Linked DNA regions of Homo sapiens: region 2 is linked to region 1. Evidence: promoter capture Hi-C in human tissues and cell types (Jung and others, 2019). All regions are on one chromosome and are shown on one strand. The core of a region is centred on a gene start or on the middle of the fragment in contact, and the rest is flanking DNA. Distances in the headings are between cores, read along the strand shown.

Region 1 (2,603 bases), core at 72-2,571:
GTAATGTGTACATTACATTTACACATTCTGGTAAGAATGGTAAAAACTGTCTAGGAAGTTGGTGCTATCTTTCAAGATTGAAAAGAGAAATGCTGGCTGGAAAAGAACGTAGGTCAAATGAATATTGTGTCTACTTATACATCCAGACGATCCTGAGGACCTCACTTTCACTTAGAGGAAGAAACAATTATCATGCATAAAACTGTATTTTGGTCTCCTGAATGCTGTTAAAATATGGGGTTGTAATAAAGTAGTCTTCCTCTATGAAGCAGAAGCATTGATAGCACTTGGTCTTCTGGTTAAACTTCTTAAATCCTCACAGAAAGAGCCCTGATAAAGGTTCAACTATCTTTGCTGTCAGCAATACATGTGTGGTCCAAGGACTGTACCTGTCTGCAAATGCAGAGGAGTGGCTTGTTCCAGTTTTATATACAGCTGCTCTTTTTGAGAATCATTAGACACCTCGAAGTGAAGGACCTTAGCTCTACTCAATACCTCTTTTTCTGGATAGGATATTTATCCTACACTTTTCTATTCTAACATGAAGTGAAAGCCAATTCAAACCGTGCAGCTTTATTTGAGAGCATTTCTGACTTCATCTTTATCTTAAAAGGATGCTTTAAAAAGGGGTTCATGGGGACACATAAATCTGAAATATGCGTATATTAAAATAAAGACATACAATTACCTAACATCTAATACAAAATACAGTACTGAACACAAATCGAAAAAAGGCATGCGGGCAAATAATGGATGTACATTCATCCCTTTCACTCAGATCAAAGAGAGGGAGCTCTCAATGACTCATACATACCGGACAGAGTTAAATGTTATAAAGAAATATGCCACAGATGCAGCAGTGATGGCAAAGGAAATGAATCTTTCTGAAGCAGAAAGATTTAAGAGGAAAGGAGATCGTGCCATATCGCAAACTCTGATAGTACAGTTCCAACCCTCCCACGTTGCTCTCTCCACATTTCTTTTTGCTTCTTGCATTTCCCTTCGCCGCCAGTGTTAAGAGTGTACCTCCCCGCACAACTTACCTTGAAACGGGACTCCATTGAGCTCTCGAGAGTGACACAAGCCCATAGCCAATCGTCTCACGCGGCCCCGCCTGGGCGGCCTCAATGGAAGCGTGTGGACCAATCAGGATCCTGGGGCGATGAGCAAGTTACGTTGTGGCGCGATTCGGCGTATACTTCCGCGCGTGCTGCCCGGGATAGGAGCCTGGCAGAGCAGCTGCACACACGGCAGTGCGGAGGCAGAGAAGGGGTTGGTGATACGGTGCTATAAATCTGTGGTCCAGTCCACCTCCCTTTTAAGACGTCCTCCCCCCTATTTCTGTTCTTAGTTAGAGATGCAGCAGCTTACTCCTGTAGCGACCTACTAAAAAGCAACAAGGAGAAAGACATCGTCTTTTTGAAAAAACGTTCTTTCGTCTCTTTTCTTTGTTCCTTGGTTTGTTTTTCTTGCCCCTTTTTGTTTAGTTGAACGGCAATAGGAGGGTAGTCTCTCCGTCTTTTTAAACTCTTTTTTAAGTTTCCCCTCCCCTTTCATATTTTTTTTCGCCATTTCTTTTAGCATTGGACTTTGGGGTCGAAAGCGTTTCTTTTTATTTGCTTCTTTTAAGCCGAGCACAGTTTAGGTTTCGTGCTGTCTTAAGAGAACTATCCAGCAGCTTCTTGCTCATCCTTATTGGGAGAACTGCACCGTTACTTTAAAAACACACATACACAAAAACCTTAAGGGAGAAAGGTAAGTTTCGGTTTGGTTTCTTTAATCATTAGTTGCAGCGATGCGCTGGCAAACCCAGAAAACCTGTAAGTGAGCGGAATACAGAATATGAAGTTAATTGCACATGTTTGTCTCATTTCAAAGCTACTGTTCTGCTTTTTTAATTTTAAAGAGCTAGACTAAAAGACGGTGGACGCATGCTTAGCGTACTGAATATTCGTAAATGTCCATGGCAGAAACTTAAGTGGTAAATGTGGCCAGGGGGGAGTAGGGGTACAATGGGAGGTTAGATGTGGAGTGAGCTTCAAGATTGAGATCGGAAGTTCATTTCGTGGGGAGAGAGTGATAACTTGGGTGTTGGGGATGCATGCCTCTACTTTGGCTCAGCAACGGAAGGACGGGAGAGGCTTTACAATCATTAAGGGGAATCAGAAGCCTGGACTGGCAGATTAGACCAGCGAAAACCACAGGCTTAATTGCATTAACCAGATAGCATGTGCTGGGGAGATGGGATTGCCAGATGGAATTTAGATGCTGCACCAGGCAGCGAGTTGTAGTTGACTGAAAAAAGTACATGCCGCCTGAGGGCTGGGGCTGGGGCTGGGCTGAGGCTAGGGTTGTTAGAAGCTGTCAGAACTCATCATTGTATGCGGGCTCTGATTCACGGACTCCAATTATCATAATTCAGTTTTAAAAGAAGATAGCCAATTTGGGGCTGAATTCTTAAGCCTGTACCGGATATGAGATTCCCTTTGTTCAGAAAAGCGTAAATAAGATCCTTGGAGCTGTGTCTATGAAGTGCCGGCTGCTTGGGAGCCTCGCTGTGCTGGGCGCTGGGAAGTGGATTCCAAGCCCTGTCCTTGGTCCTA
Region 2 (2,603 bases), core at 48-2,547, 76 kb after region 1:
TGATGGGGCCCTTGACTCTTTACAACCTGTTTGACCTTTGGACTTAATACTGAGAAAGTCAAATCCTCCTTTTAAAGTAAAGTTTAAGGGAGGCATAGCTGTGTGTAAACTGGTAAATCAGAATCACTGCACTGTTTTTAAGGTCACTGGAGCCTGAGAGAACAGTTTTATTTCCTCACATTTTAATGCTTTAAATCCAGTCTTAAGGAGTTGCCTCCAAGGGTACTGTCGTACGAATCCTTTTTCCTAACCCTGGTACTAAGTAAGCCATGGGAGCTTTTTTCATTCCATTTAAATGAATTGTAGTTTGCTCTTATTCTACTTTAAATGTATCTAAACATTTTGAATATAAATGAGAGACTGATGGTGTATCAAATCAATTGACATCTTCTCATGTAGACAAGGGCTCTCCTAAATGACTTCCCAAATCCTGCCTCTAAAATTGTCTTTTTTTTCTTTTGTGAACCTGAGTATTAGGTTAGCTCTTTTTAAACATGGTGCCAAGTGATTTTGCCATTATATGGTGCAGACAGTGTACTACCTTCTCAAGTAGAATGATTTGGGATCTAATATCTTAAAATCTAACAATGTTATACCAGGTTTGTTTTTAGACCTTTATATTCTTTATTATTTGTTGTCCTTTTTTTATGGGGGTAAGCCCTTTTATACATATTGGAATAGGATTAAAATACAGAATTGTTAATACCGATTTGTTACTGTGTTTTATATCAATATGTGTATTTTTTTAAGTGCTGGAAATTGGGAGCCTTTGCAAAAAGGCGTGATAACATTCCATTATATCCCCAGCTCTAGAACATACAAAGCTAGTCCTGATGTGCTACTTAAAAGTAGAATATGGAATCTTCTGGGGTTAGTTTCTTACTCTATTTGATATTTTAGTTCTCTGAATGCTTATAGAAAACAATATATTTGGATATAGCCATCAAAGTAAGGAGGATGTCTAATATTCTTTCCTAGCCTTTATAGTTGGACAACCGACTTTTAAAGAGTCTTTTTTTTTTTTTTCCTTTTTTAAGACAGTACCCTTGGAGGCCACTGTGTTCATGACCAGTGACTCCTTGAGACTGGGTTTATTAAATGGACCTGTTAGTATAGTGAATAACAGCTCTTAGGTAATTTTGCGTAGTTGTTAGTAGGCACCAAAGGAGGAAGGGTGAGCGTTAGTTGCTCTATAGATTATAATGAAAGAAGGTCTCAGGCCAGATCCCACCACACATAGAAACCTCTATCTAGCAAGCAGGACCAAATTGATGGAGAAGCCTTTTCTGAAAGCTTGGTAAAGTCCCACTTCTCTCTTCTTTTTTAAGTGCTTTGAACACACTTTAAATGAAATGTTCACCGGAGGCTAACAATATCCCAAAAGTCACGTTCTGCACCCTCACTTTGCATCATGCAAAAAGAAATCCCTTTAAACAAAGACTGAAACCCAGGACCATTTAACATTTAGGGGTTCTCTCCATAAAGATATAACCACCTTGGATTATGCCACCTTGGATTTTGTGCCCTGTTTATACGAAGGTGGGAAGTGTCTCTAAACTAATTTAGCCCATCTGCGTATCTTGAACTCCTTTAATTTTACCGGTAAGACTCCATTTCTAACACTCGTTATGCTAATTAACAAATAACTGGCTTACAGAACAAAACCCTATTTTGACATCCATTAGGTGAATCAGCAGAGAATTGGTTGTTGATTTAGGTATGGATAGTATGTAGGCTTACACTAGTCACTTGAATTTTAGCCTACTTGTATTATACTAGTTAACTAATCCTGGATTGTGCATTAATGATAGTATGTTAGATGACCACCCAGAATTAAAGCTTAAATGGCTGGTGCACACGTGTCATCAGATTAATTCTAAACTTTAAAAAGAAATGTTTTTATTGTGGCAAAATATAACATAAAATTTATCATTTGAACCTTTTCAAGTTTACAGTTCAGTGACATTAAGCACATTCACAGTATTATGCAGCCGTCACCCTTATCCATTTCCAGTACCTTGTCATCATCCCAGATAGAAACTCTGTAACCATCAAACAGTAACTCCTCACCCACCTCCTTTGCTCCCAGCCTTTGGTAACCATTATATTTTCTGTGTCTCTATGAATTTGCCTATTCTCGGTACCCCATATAAATGAAATCATACAACATTTGATATACCAAAGTATTTTGAAAGTAAATTATGATAATTGTTTTCAGGAGATACTAGTTTTTTTCCCCTTGGGCTGTAGACTCTTCTGTATGTTTTATTTCTCTTCCTCTCCAAGTGGCTTTAGGGACCAACCCCTCCCCCTGAAATAAGTAGCCTGGCTTCAAATTTAGTTCATGCCACATTCCCCGTAAAAGAAACGTCCAATTAAAATACTGAATTTGTGCAATATTTTGCCAGATTGCTGACTACTTGCAGGGACTTCATCTTACCCCCTTTGCAGTTGTTCTGCCTGGTTTCAAGCTTGTTTTATTCTTTTGAAAATTGCCTTCAATCTCTTATCACTCCCCATCTTGGCAAGTTACCTGGAGGAAGAGGCAGTTGGTGTATGTACAGTGGGTCAGAAAGAAGAACCCAAGTAGTTTTGCTCCCTGG

Evidence for each region. The method cuts DNA at HindIII sites, captures the fragments that hold promoters and counts their contacts. A contact is called where the count stands out against the background at its distance.
Region 2: a fragment that was not itself captured here is called in contact with the fragment with the promoter of ELAVL2 in region 1 in 3 of the 25 tissues and cell types used here (dorsolateral prefrontal cortex, heart left ventricle and mesendoderm cells).

Annotation. Positions count from the first base shown.
Region 1 is chr9:23,824,958-23,827,560 of GRCh38, reverse strand. ELAVL2 (ELAV like RNA binding protein 2) reads left to right here and starts at 1,321. Exons shown (of 7, transcript NM_004432.5): 1 at 1,321-1,755. It overlaps LOC105375992 (a long non-coding RNA gene), which reads right to left and starts at 1,133. Exons shown (of 3, transcript XR_929519.3): 1 at 1,044-1,133. The HindIII fragment of the contact is 12,029 bases long and covers 1-2,603 here.
Region 2 is chr9:23,748,455-23,751,057 of GRCh38, reverse strand. The region is part of intron 2 of ELAVL2 (ELAV like RNA binding protein 2); the gene reads left to right. Among named protein-coding and RNA genes, the nearest start is that of ELAVL2, 76 kb to the left of the region's middle. The HindIII fragment of the contact is 5,669 bases long and covers 1-2,603 here.